2 separate regions of the Homo sapiens genome follow, and region 1 is linked to region 2. The links are contacts of gene promoters, found by promoter capture Hi-C in blood cells and fetal thymus (Javierre and others, 2016). All regions are on one chromosome and are shown on one strand. The core of a region is centred on a gene start or on the middle of the fragment in contact, and the rest is flanking DNA. Distances in the headings are between cores, read along the strand shown. Region 1 holds the start of LINC01621 (long intergenic non-protein coding RNA 1621). Region 2 holds the start of HTR1B (5-hydroxytryptamine receptor 1B).

Region 1 (7,340 bases), core at 3,442-5,941, 2.3 Mb after region 2:
ATTAATGTAGGCAGGATTAGGGAAGCCAACAAGATATAGTGAGACACCCAGGTGGTGGCTCTTGCCACCCCAACCCTAAAGGGGAAAGAGAAGGAAGCTTGTTACTGGAGCTCAGCTGAGAGCTGGAGAAACGGAGGGGCTGCCTGTCAGAACTGTCATGGGGTAGGGAAGAGGGGGATAAATACATGACCTCAGCCTGTCTCTCCTCCTGTCCTCTCCTTTCCCACTGGTGCTGCCCATTGGCCAAATCCATCTGGAAGCCAGAGGGCGGAAGCCTGGTGATGCAGTTTGTAGAGGTCAGCCTCCCAGGCACAGAGCTGAGCAGAGAAGGGTGAGCACATATCTGTGGGGCAGGTGGGGAATAAACAGCACAATTACATAGCTAGTATTTTGCCTTTTTCATTTTTTAAAAAAAGTTTACCTCATATTTTATAAACTTATGTAAGTTGGCTTAATAAAATTTAATGCAATATAAAACAAAAAATGCTAAAAACATAAAGCAATGGTTTTCAAGATGTGGTCTCAAAGTGTGATTTCCAGGGGTTCCCAAGACCCTTCAGATCTGCAAGGTCAATTTGTAATAATACTATGATGTTACCTCGTGTTTTCCTTTCACTCTTTCACAAGCAACCCGTGGGTTTTCCCATGCTGAGTGATGATGTTATTGACTGCTAACGGAATGTGTGCCTGTGCATTCTCATGATTTAAAATTCATCCCATTTTAATTTCTAATGTAGTAGATGATAAACATTACTCAAATAAACACAGTTTCTTTGGGTCCTCAATTATTTTTGATGTAAAGAAACCCTGAGACCAAAATGTGAAAGAACCACTGATGTAAAGGTAGCCAAAGGACAGATGTGTCCAGGTGAGAGGTGAAGCCAGCTGGACTTCCTGGGTCGAATGGGGACTTGGAGAACTTTTCTATCTAGAGGATTGTAAATGCACCAATCAGCACTCTGTAAAAATGCACCAATCAGTGCTCTGTATCTAGCTAAAAGATTGTAAATACACCAATCAGTGCTCTCTATCTAGCTAAAGGATTGTAAATACACCAATCAGCACTCTGTAAAAACGCACCAATCAGCACTCCATGTCTAGCTAAAGGATTGTAAATGCACCAGTCAGCACTTTGTAAAATGGACCAATCAGCACTCTGCAAAATGGACCAATCGGCACCCTGTAAAATGGACCAATCAGCAGGACATGGGCGGGGCCAAATAAGGGAATAAAAGCTGGCCACCCAAGCCAGCAGAGGTAACCCGCTCCGGTCCCCTTCCATGCTGTGGAGGCTTTGTTCTTTTGCTCTTTCCAATAAATCTTGCTGCTGCTCACTCTTTGGGTCTGCACTACCTTTAAGAGCTATAACACTCACTGCAAAGGTCTGCGATTTCACTCCTGAAGTCAGCGAGACCACGAACCCACTGGAATGGAGAAACTCTGGACACATCTGAACATCTGAAGGAACAAACTCCAGATACACCATCTTTAAGAACTGTAACACTCACCACGAGGGTCCAAGGCTTCATTCTTGAAGTCAGCGAGACCAAGAACCCACTGGAAGGAATACATTCAGGACATACAGGTACTTGAAAGGAACTATTCTTCATGCTGGGCACCAAATCTTCTAGTTTATCTAACAGTAAAGTCGATAGGAAACATAAGGGTTAGATGGTAAGTCATCTCTAGAGCCTGAGATGTGACTTGGGTAAGTTTTCTAACAACAAAGTATAAGAAGCCCTTGTGTGGAGTTCATGTATAATGATCTACTTATTTAAAAACGATATATGGGATACTGGATAATAAAACAAAGTATCTTTATTGCAAGAGTGGTGCATCAATTTCCTATTGCTGCATAATAAATAATCACACATTTGATGGCCTAAAAACCATACCCATTTGTTATCTCACAGTTTTTGTGGGTCAGGAATCTGGGCATGTCATAACTGGGTTCTCTGCTCAGGGTCTCACAGGGCTGAAATCAAGGTGGATTGCATTCTCATCTGGAGGATGCAATGGAAATGCTAGGATCTGCTTCTAAGCTCCTGCAGGTTGTTGGCAGAATTCATGTCTTTATGACTGTAGAATTAATGGCAGCTTGCTTCTTCAAAGCCAGCAACAGAAATAAGAGTCTTTACTGCTTCAGGTCTCGAACTTCAGGGAGGGCCTGGACCCTCTTTTAAAAAGCTCACTGATTTGGCCAGGCCCACTGAGGGTAAATGCTCTTTTGTTTAACTAAAAGTCACTTGATTAGGGATCTTAATTATACCTGAAAAAAGTCCCTTCGACTTTGCCATAAATATAATTACAGGAGTGGTATTTCCTTACTTTTGTTGTATCTTATGGTTAAAAGCAAGTTATGATTTCCACCCACATTCATGGCAAGGGGATTAAGAGCATGACTCATTAGGGGTCACCCTATGGTGTATCTGTCAGAGGTGGGGAACAGATTCAACCATAATCAGAAGGGTTTTAATACAAAGAGTTTTAATACAAAGGCAGCACAAGTACATGACTAAACTCCTGAGTGAAGACCTTAGAAGTAATATTCTTTTGGGCAAGATTCCCCTTGTGTGAACAACATTCCAGACTCTCAATCAAAACACTACAGTCAAAATGAGAACACAGAAATATAGAAGCATTGCTACCTTGGACAAATGAGGCAACGACAAAGATGATGTAAAAGGTGAATCAGAATCAAAATAAAGCCGCACCAGGATCCTACAATTCTGCTACTAATTGGTTTGGTGAATTTGGCACCTCTAATCATCATTGGCAAACACTAATCATGCTGTAAAAGCTAATTAGGATTAAGGAGCATTATCCGGGAGGCCAAGGGGAAGTGTATGAGGTTTTAAAGGCCCTAATATATGTCTTTGAATTTGTTAGACTGATATTTTAGTATTTTCCAAAGCTCTCTTCCTGAAAACTGTTGAGAAAAAAAGCTGATAGGATTTTTAAATGAATATCCTACAGATGAGGGGGTATTGAAGGAATTTTCTAGGAATAAACTAGTCTAACTTGGAGGTGATAATTTCCTTCTGTAAAGATGGAGGAGGCCACTCTCAATGCCCATGAAGCAGAAACAATACTTGTAGAATTTATCAGAGGAGCTCATTCATCTAGATGATAAAGGTTACTATTTTGGGGAGAGGGGAACAACTTCAGTGGCTCTCTGTGCTCTGTACACAGTCTGCTCTCAAAACTGTTGATTGAAGATGAGGATGAAGATAGTGAAGATGAAGAAAATGATAATCCTCAGAGAGTTCAAAACCCTACCTCTAAATAGCTGTCTTTGCTAATAATGCCTTGTTACTAACCAGGGCCATGTGACATGAGATACACGACTGGCCTCCAGCTGAGGAAGGTGAGAGAATAGAGAGGAGAGGGGACGCTGCCATGTCAGGGAGCTCTTGGGTGGAAGGCAGACAGCCTCAGAGACAGATTTCACCTAATGTAAATGTTTCCCAGAATGGTTGCTATTTTTGTTCTAAGTAGTTTGCTTATGCCAAAAGTGCATATTTCCCCAACAATCCTCAGGAAATAAGACACAGAAGTCTGTCTTTAATTTTCATGATATCCTGCAATTTAAATCAGTCTGGGTGCATCTGTGTGGTTTTTATTTTTTGGTATTGTTTAGATGTAATTAAGCAAATCAATACACAGGTACTTAATTATATATTAACAGGGCCATTTGTTAACAAACTTAGTTATAGGATGGAATTAAACTGTAGTAAAGATTTAAAAACCTGCAATAAATTCAATTAATATCAGGTCATTACTCAGAATCTGAATTTATAGATATATTACCATCTTGACAGGAATTTATATTGATTGGATATTTTGAATATTAATAAAATATAAAATTTAGTATTAATAAGTGGGACTATGGTACAATTTTAAAAAGAAAAAAACAAAATTGTGGTTTTTCTAGTTCTTTTAGAGTTGAAGGGGTTAATATGTTTCTCTGAGTCTCACATATTTGTATTTGCCTCTATGCCTATCAAAATTTTATAAAAGCTACTCTAAGATTGGTTTTCTTAATTTTTGTTTTTCGTCCATTTATTCGTGTTTATTAAGGAAAACGGTAATGGAGCTAAAGGTAGGTGAGTCGGCTGTAATTAAGGAAGCTACGGTAATTAAATTATTGTACGGCCACCCCTCGAGCTGTCATTTGAAAGGATGAAAGCTTAATTTTTCCATCAACAAAGTCAATTTCATCCAAGCTGTTGTTTAGAATGCCACATGCATTTAAAAATTACATGTTTAAACTAATCAGGAGCAAATGGAATTTAAACCCCTCTTCAAAATAACATGGATAGATTGTAAATTTATGGAGCATTTTCACTATAGAAAATTAAGTCCATTCAAAACATATCCAGGAGTCATCAGGCAAACAGGGCAGTACTGATGTAAACTACCCACTGTGTGAGCTTAAGGCAGAAGGGTCTCTAATAAATTCGAGTAAATAGCAGCTGAACTGGCCTCACCATGGCTTATGTGTTCAACCTAGCAAGGAAAAAGTTAGCATTAATTGGTACACTCTAGGCTCTCTCAAAGGAACAGGCACTTAGAGCAATTAAGTCAGATGCAGAAAAACAGCTCTGCATTGAAAAGCTGACAGCAGGACTCCTGCACAATATACGTAATGAGTGGCTGAGGACTTTAATGGATCGAGGCTTGGAGACTAATGGACAATTAATGTAAAACAGATGACTTCCCTTGGAGATGACAGTCTTTTGAAAGGCGCTTCACCTGCTGCTCGAACAAATGCGGCTAAAGTGAAATGAAAACAGGAACGTGGTCTCATTGAACGAGGCTAGAGCTAGTATTTGTGTCCCTGCTTTCTCCTTGAATAGTTTCAAAAACTAGGTCAGGAATTTAACAATTCCCTGCAGCTGGTGGTGCAAGCCCCCTCTCGTGGCCTCCCGCCATCCAGGGTGGCCTGAGATCACTGACTGTGCCTCTTGAGCCTTTTGAGAAGCTGCCCTAGCTCGCCTTGTTTAACAGGCAAAAAGAAGACAGGACATATTATAGTGTTCCAGCCTCACTTTTAAAATGACAACAAACCACCCCAACATAGAAATTGCAGTAAATACATATTGGAACATCTATTGGAAATTTAAGAACATGGTTTCTTCTCAAATTAGGCTATTTTAATTTTAAATTAAGATAACTGGAGTCCTTCAAATTTAAGCTTTATAAGCACAGACAGGCTCCCTCCTTATGATAAGTGGTTGTGTACCGAAAGCAAATAATTGTTTGCAAAGAGAAACTCATTTCCTATAGAAACAATGCTGCGGTGGCATTTAATTTTCCACGTGATCTTCCTGAAATCTGTTTAACCCAGATGGAAGCTTAACACAAGTCAGCCTGAGCCCTGGGTCCTGGAACAGGGAGGAGTCAGCTACTCCTGTGGGAGAGGGGAAAGAAGAGGGAGACAAAGATGTTTCCCCCTCTTAGTGGGAAATGGGATTGGACTGAGCTATAATTTTGAGTTACAAACTAATCCTTGGCAATTTTCTATCTTCTAACATCCCTTTACTCAACACTCAAGAAATCAGTGCCTTATGTCATTTAAGTCGCTAGGCATTTCACCCCTGCCCCCAAGCCCCCAACTCCTCTCCTCACTACAGATGTACATATCTTAGCAATTCCCTATTTGTTCTCCTGTAATTTTTCTTCCATTTTCTCATAACAGTACATCTCATCTAGAAATTGAGGAAAGCAGCTTGTATGGGCTAATGAACACCTTTGGTTGATGGCCTGAGCACTCCCAGAAGCCTCTGCATATTAAAGAAAGAATTGCTTCTAAACTCACATGCATGTCCCATTGACAGAATTTCTGTAAGAAAAAAAAAAATCAAGTCAAAATTTCAGGTATCTAATTCAAAAAAACCCACAAGTGCAGGAGAAACGTATTAGGATATTTGTTATAGCAATGAAAAGTAGAAACCACGTAGAAGTCAATGAGAAAATGCCTTAAGTGTGATATATTCATATGATGTCAGATTATGCAGGAGTTATGTGGGTACATTAGAAAATTAGCAAACGTCACCCTTTTCTCTCAGCCTGATTAGGTTTCAGCCCCCATGTGCCTGCTCAGCAAGACATGGTTGAACAAGGGTGAGATTTGCACAGCTCAGTTTATAAGCTCTGCCCCTCCCTGCCAAGTGAACACAGAGCCACGGCAAGGGTAGAACTTGTATTAAGGCCACAAATATTAATATATGTAGATTGTATGTTTTAATCCAGAAATTCATGTAGTTGATGTGGCATCTACTAAAAGTTGGGTAGGCAGGAAATACCTATTTTCTTCAAATCAAATTCAATATGGCTGCCATCCCCTATGTCACTGAATTGCAAGAAATTCAATCTTCATTATTTGTTTCCTCCCCTCCTCCCTGGGTTTACCTAAAAATTGGGAGGATTATTTGGTGCCCAGAAAATGAGCAAGTCTCTCAGTGGGTCCAGAGTGCTCTGAATCTTCATTCCGAGGCTCTAACTGAGGCGGCTGGCTCTCCTGGTTCTGCACCAAGCTGCTTCCCTTCAAACAGCATTCTCACCTGAGTAGCAGCTTGACTGGGGGCAGTGCCAAGAAAGGGGCTTTGGGAATGTCCCTTCCTCCCATTTCAAAAGCTTCCATGTTCCCTGGACAAACTCATTGACCCATTCCCGCCCGTGCCAGCCCTCTCAGTGAGCTCAGGTTTCAGGCAAGGGAGGTAGGTTTCCAGGTGGCCAGGAGGAGCAGTTACCTTAATGCAGTGGTTCTCAGCACGTGGGTCCCGTAGTTACAGTTAGAAGGAGAAATACCTAATGTAGATGACGGTTGATGGGTGCAGCAAACCACCATGGCATGTGTATACCTATGTAACAAACCTGCACGTTCTGCACATGTATCCCAGAACTTAAAGTTTATATATATAGGCCAATTCTTGATTCTTGAACTCCATCCCAGACTTGCTGAATCAGAAACTGGGGGCACAGGCAGCATGCTGCATCTTAAGCCTTAAAGGAATCTTAAAGGTCAGGGCTTTCTGCTCTGACCTCACAACAAACCACCCAGAGGGCAACGGTTCTGGCTACCTCCTTTAAATAGAGAAGGGAAAAATAGAGAGGTAAAAGCAAAACAGTCCTCATTCTCTCAGATACCTCTATAGCAGCAAAAAAATAACAAATAAAAAAACCCCACATATATACCTTAATGATCTCTCCCCTCTGATAAGGCACTGTGTAAAGCAAAGTTGAGATTTATAAAGGATAAAGAAAACCTGAACTCATTTGATCCACACGCCACCAACAAATCCTCGCCCCTACCTTCCAGGTTTAAGAATTCAGGA
Region 2 (6,546 bases), core at 943-3,442:
AGCAGTGTGGGCTGAGTCACCCATCATACCCTTCATTTATGGGGATTTAAATGTGTAAAGTGACAGGTACATGAAATTAAGAGAAAAAATAAAGCAGTCTGCAGACTTCGGCACTAGCACACATAATGGTTTGTTTGTTAGAGTTGTGGCTTGACAATCGCTAAACAGGAATTACAAAATTGTAAATCTGCAGAAAACAAACAATCATAGGTGTTGATTCTCAGTTTAACACTCCTCATCTCCCATTCCCACCCACCCACCCCCATATAGTTTCAAGTATAATAAAAATAGAGATCTCAGCATCAGAATTTTGCTGTTAACTCTTCAAGGTTTCTCTGCGCCATCCAAGCCACACATAGGGTTTGAAGCACCAAATCCACAAGTTTCTCCAACCAAGTTTAAATAGACAAAAAGTGAAGACTGAATGATGCCAAAGTAACTGTTCTTAAATTAAGCTGTAACACAAAGTTCTCCCCCCAAAAACACAGGGCATTAAGCGTCTAGTTCAAGTACTGCCAGGCTGTATGTAGATCTGTCTCAGACAGGCTTCAGACAACAATTACAAGTACACTGCTTCTAGTGGGCATTATCCACGATACCAAAGCAGGGCAGGGATTCCCTTCCATTATCAATTTTTAAAAGTTGCAACCCCCTTTGGGATTGGCTGCCGCAGGGTCAGTGCTGAGCCCGGGGCTTGAGGGGAGGAAGTGAGCCTCCTCCTGGGCAGGGAAGCTCTACATTTAGTTTCAACACTTCTCCTTTCAGAGCTCTCTCTCAGGACTATTCTGGCTTCTCAGGATCCATTGCCCTTGCCCAGGAGAGAGAGCCTCGCTGGGACCCAGAAACCGCGAAAGAAGATTCGACCTACCTGTGGAACCAGACACAACTTGGTCCCCAAAGGTCGCTTAGGCGACCCCACTGCAAACGGCAAGTCAACTTGTGCACTTAAAACGTATCAGTTTATGGAATGCTTGTTTAAAGTCCTCATTGGACATGGTATAGATTATGGGGTTGATGAGGGAGTTGAGATAGCCCAGCCATGTGAAGAAGTCAAAGATGGCTAGGTGGAACCAGCAGGCATCTTTGCAGATAGGCATCACTAGGGAGATGATGAAGAAGGGTAGCCAACACACAATAAAGGCTCCCAAAATGATCCCTAGGGTCTTGGTGGCTTTGCGCTCCCTAGCGGCCATGAGTTTCTTCTTTTCCAGCAGGGCGTCGGAGACTCGCACTTTGACTTGGTTCACATACACAGGAGATCCGGATTCGCTGGGCACGTCGGGAACCCGCGAGTTAATAGAGGTGACCGAGGACGTGGACCCGGGGGAGTCGGTTATCAGCTGGGCTCGGGTCAAGCGCTTGCCGGTCCTGTTGGGCGTCTGTTTCAAAATCCGGGAGCGGGCTTCTACGTAGATGCGGCCATAGAGGGCGATGAGGAGCAGGGTGGGGAAGTAGAAAGCACCCACCGTGGAGTAGACCGTGTAGAGGATGTGGTCGGTGTTCACCACGCATTCCGACACCTCCTCTTCGGCCTTAGCCTGACGCCAGAAGAAGGGCGGCAGCGAGATAGAGATGGAGAAGACCCACACCAGCGCGATCATGACCGCCGCCCTCTTGGGAGTCCTTTTAGCTGAGTACTCCACGGCGTCCGTGATGGCCCAGTAGCGGTCCAGGGCGATGACACAGAGGTGCAGGATGGAGGCAGTGCAACAAGTGATGTCCGACGACAGCCAGAAGTCACAGACCACCTGGCCCAGTGTCCAGCGGCCGGTGACAGTGTACATGGTGCTGATGGGCATCACCAGGATGGACACAAGCAGGTCGGTGACCGCCAGAGAGGCGATCAGGTAGTTAGCCGGGGTGTGCAGTTTCCGGGTCCGGTACACTGTGGCAATCACAAAGGCATTGGAGAGCGTGGTGGCCAAGGTGATGAGCGCCAATAGCATAACCAGCAGTACTTTCCAGGGTAGGGAGATGGAGTCCTGGTAAATGTAGTCCTTGGCGCTGCAGTTTTGGGAGGGAGCAGAGGATAAGTTGGCTTGAGGAACCCAGGTCTCGGAGCCCGCGGGCGGCGGTGGAGCGCACTGAGCACCCGGTTCCTCCATGGCTCTCCTCGCCCCAGCTCCGGAGCGCAGCTCTTGGGCATGGAGCGGACGAAGGAGAGGGCGGAAGGACCGTGGCGATCGCAGGTTTGTCCCCAGTTGATAGTTCCGTGAGTTCCTCAATTATTCCTCCGCCCAGGTTCACAGCTGAAACTAGAGGTCATGGGTGCGGCAGCCAAGGCAGGCGGGCGCCTCCCCTGCACTTCCAGAGCGCCTAGCTAAGCCGCCGCGTCTGTGGTTGTTCCTCTCCACACCGGGTCTTAGACCTGGGTTGCTAAGAGCTGGCCCACCGAGCCCTGCTCCGCTCCAGCTCCCTGGAGGCGTCTAGTGCAGGAGGGTGAAGTACTGCTTGAGGAGAAGGCTTTGACCAAATGGGATCTCTTACCCCAGTTGCTTGAGGCTGAGCGTCTCCTAACCTGGACGCTTTTGGATCTGCAGACTTTGCCCACAGGAGTTTCCTAGGTGTAGAGACCAAAGCTTGCAGGCCAGCGAGAGGTCCCGAGATCTTGCATTCCCACCCCTCGCCCCAAGCTGGGGCACTTTTGGGGGGCTGCAGCGGCCGCCAGAGCTGGGTGGGGTGAAGTCTAGGAGCAGCGCTGCGCCGCGCCTCGCGCCGGAGCTCTGCCCTCCCTCTCTTTTCACTCTCTGGCCACTCGGACGAGCTGCCCCGCGGAGACGGAGCCATAAAAGGGGGGACACGGGGGCTGGAGTTGCGGCTGCTCGGGCCGCGCCGCCGCCACCGCCACCCTGGTCCCACGGGAGCCACTCGGAGCCATGCCACTGGGTGCGCGGGTCTGGAGGACCTGGCGCGGCACACTGGGAAGGGGCAGGTGTCTGGGGGAGCTGGAGGGACGCGGCGTGCACCAGCCCGGGAGAAGCGTGCGAGCTACGGAGCAGATGGGCTCTTTATATAGAGTCCAGGTCCGGTCCGCCAGAGCAGTGCAACTCGTGCGGCGCGGCGGGTGCGGACGCCCGCTCCCCATCACCTTCCCTTTTTCTCTCTCCCTCCCTCTTTTCCCCCCGCCCTGTTCCTTTCCTGGCCAAGGAAGCTCCCGCCGGGTCCTACCGCCCTATCTCCCCGCTTCCCACCCTGGGCCATCCTCCCAGCCCTGACAACCTGGAGCTGCATTTCTGGTCAGGGGAAGAAGGCGTCCTGTTCTCGCCTCTACGGACATCAGAGCTTGCTGCGCTGACCTCCAGTGAGACCCATGTCCTTAGCCATGGTCACAGGTTTAGTCCAGCAGTCTGGCCCTAGGCTCCTGCCTACCACTCCCACCCTAGGAGGCCAGTGTTAGGCGGGGAAGCCCTGGTCTCTGACCTCTCCGCTCTAAAATCATATCCAGCCCTGATGGCCACACCCAGGTTAGGAGGCACCAGTAATATCGCTGTAGAGGGCCCAATGTTTGCATTTTGTACTTTGCCGTCCTTAACTCTTGATACAATAAAAACTATTTTTTCATCTAGTTTTAGAAATTTGTGTTTTTCACTCAACTATGAGTCAACAGGGAAAAAGACAAGCTATCTGCGAAAATGTAAAAGTTATCACAAACAGAAGCCAACTGTATGTGAAATTAAACCTTCTGCTCCACCATCCTCTTCCAGCTGCTCAGTGCTTCAGTGCCTCTGGAAAACAGTTGCCAGTAAGCGTGTTCCTTCCAACAGCCTACCTAGAAAGGAGGTCATCAGAATTCAAGAAAAAAGGGGGATGGTGGGGCGGGGAGGACTGGAACCATCATCAGCACCATCTTGTGTGTCTCCTTTGCCTTCAACTAATATGTGGGAATGTCAGCCATAAGCTGCAGCATGCAATACCAGTACCTAGGTCTCATGACCAGGGACGGATCCCCTGTCCTCAGTTTCTCCTCTGACCTCAACAGAAACAAATGTAGGGTAGAGATGCAAATCAGAAAGTATGAAGAAAAGCTCCAGGAAAGGACAAGGTATTTTCAGCTCGAAGGATTAAATGATCCCCACTACGAATTCCTAGAGCCTAGATCCATGTTTGGCACCTAGAGTGTATCTAATAAAAACTGCATTGTAAATGAATTCATCTGTTTAAGCGCACATATATTTTAAAGAGAATCATTCTGTGTCAGAACCTAAGGCTATCTGATCTGATCCCTCCACCCAGTTTTAGAGGAAGAGTAATTGAGATCCTTTGAAAGAAGAGCTTTTTACCCAAGGCAATAAAGCACAAACCCAAGTTCCCTTAATTCCCGGTTCTCTAAACCAGGCAAGCAGGCAAAAAATAGAGTGCCTACTCTATGCTGAGTATTTTTCTAGGCATCCGAGGTATGGAGGCCAGTGGGAGTAGACTCAGACCCTCTTTTCCAGCAGTTTACATTCTAGAAGAGACAGACAATAACTACATGAACAAGTAAATAATTAATACTTATACTTTTCTGTAGTGTTAAGTGTTTTGAAGAAAAACACACATACACACATGCATGCATTGAGAGTGAGGGTACTCCTTTAACTAAGGTGGCAGCTCTTCAAGGACGTCCTCTAGATGCGGTCTGGGCTGCAGCAGCCACCCTGAGGATAAAAGCACAGCCTTCTCTCTTTTTCTCCTCCAGTCCTAGCACCTAGCATTTTGCCACCAACCTTAAGCCTCATTTTCACCACATTTTAAGGGATCCTTCCCATTCTCCCACCCCATCCACCTAGATAAACAATTATTTTTGTCAACTGCAGCGCTCACTTAGAAACCATAGAAGAGGGAAGCAAAGCCGGCGAGTTTAAACCGCTAGGTGGGGGCATTGGCCAGGACGGATCAAAAGTGTGTGCGATTGCGGGTGTGTCCTGTGGGAGTGCGGGGTGCCAGGAAACAATTTTCCCGTTATCCTAGGAGAACTGGAAACGATTAGAGACAAGTGTTAAAGGGATGGGAAGCGGGGGAAGGCCGACAGGAATGTAACCAGCTCCATGCGACCTTTCCTCTTTTAATTTCTGCTCGGGAGCATGGGACGGAGAAAAAACAAAGCAAAATTTGTTCCCCACACGGTTTTTGGCTTTAGCGGTTTGGGGACCTGTGGCTTTCTCCAGCCATGCCTCCACTGCTTCGCAGAGTCCCAGACTCCCAGAGGAATCCGCCCCTTGTAGGCAGTTTGATTTTACCCTCTTTGGTAAAGAGCTGCTTAAACACACACCGCCATCATATTGACCGGATGTTGGCAGAGTTCAGTGAAGAACCCCATTTCCTTAACCTGACTTCCGCATTTCAAGTATTCCTTTCTCACTTTAAAACACATAAAACATAGGTGTTTGCACAGAGGCGCATGTGTGTGAAACACCCAAGAGAGAAAGAGACCCTGTAAAGTCGCCTGTGCCTGGGTCACCCCTTCGGAGTAGGGGTCGCTGGGTAAGGTCCAAGTGCCAGCTCTGCAGTCCCCAGCGGCGCTAGAAGGAACCTCCAGGCAAGTTTTGGGGGAAATTCACCTGACAGGGGAGGAGCAGAGAGGGAATCAGTAGCGGAAGGGAAAGGGTGGAGATGGATTACCTGAGCGCAGCAAAACTTAGTTGAGTAGAAATAAGCTCCCGTATGAACACCGGGCACTAAAACTGCGAATTAATGTGGTTCCCTTATTATCAATTCCACGCACGTGTACGTTTGGCAGAAGCTGAGTAAGTGGAGAATAACTCTGGAACTGAAATGAAGTCAGTGAACCGACACAAAACCAGATCCTAGCGGTGAGCTGGCTGCGGAGGAACCAAAGAAAAATGAATCCTCGAGGAACCCTCTCCCATGCTAGGAAGATGTAGTTCTACAGCTGCAGCACCAAATTCGAGGCGCAGGCTGGGAAGTTTAAAGCGCAGCGCTAACCAGACTGGACACTGTCAAGGGAAGCATACTCTGCCTACAGCAACCACAAGAGATATCTCACGGAATTTATTGCAACTCAACTCTATGTAAGCTGGCAGTCAGCTAACCTTAGTCAGCCCTAGCCAGCTCTCTTGCCTGCGGCGACTGAGTCTTGCTTTCAGCATCCCTAGAGTCTTCCATCCAGAGAGTAACTATTGAAAGAGGTCCAGGCCCAGGAGCAAAGAAAGTCCTGATTTTATCTTTGCTTTGCTGAAAGAAAAACGTTAGAACACTCATGCGCCTGTCACTTTTCTCCTTTGATACAGGAAAATACAACCCCGCACTCACCATCCCACTGCTTGAGAAATCTGGTGTGGAGGCCTGTCTTGCTGCTTCTTTCAAATTCTGCTTCCTCCATCTATGGCCAGCATATATATATATATTTTCACTTCAGAAACGGGCAGCAGGAGACCACCAGCTCATGTGTGCACCATCCTAATGTGTGCTGGCAGCCCATTTCTAGGTTTATCTTATACTTCCTCCAGTAACTATTCCTTAAAGAACTGACTGATGGCAATGAAACTATCAGGTCCACCCAGTGACTTGGTTCTTACCATCCTTTGTGACTTCCTTGATGAAAAC

Evidence for each region. Contacts are between HindIII fragments. The CHiCAGO score rates a contact against its expected background, and 5 or more counts as called.
Region 1: a contact is called between a fragment that was not itself captured here and the fragment with the promoter of HTR1B in region 2, in 1 of 17 cell types (total B cells). The highest score is 6.2, in total B cells.

The regions. Positions count from the first base shown.
Region 1 is chr6:79,805,706-79,813,045 of GRCh38, forward strand. LINC01621 (long intergenic non-protein coding RNA 1621) reads right to left here and starts at 6,541. Exons shown (of 5, transcript NR_131786.1): 1 at 6,415-6,541; 2 at 5,822-5,845; 3 at 1,509-1,636; 4 at 191-343. RefSeq lists an enhancer at 767-1,966. The HindIII fragment of the contact is 1,008 bases long and covers 4,188-5,195 here.
Region 2 is chr6:77,461,299-77,467,844 of GRCh38, forward strand. It overlaps HTR1B (5-hydroxytryptamine receptor 1B), which reads right to left and starts at 2,193. Exons shown (of 1, transcript NM_000863.3): 1 at 1-2,193. The coding sequence starts at 2,105. The coding sequence ends at 933. All of the region lies in intron 5 of LOC105377864, which reads left to right. RefSeq lists a silencer at 1,059-1,203 and enhancers at 4,923-4,972, 5,183-5,242. The HindIII fragment of the contact is 3,027 bases long and covers 1-2,577 here.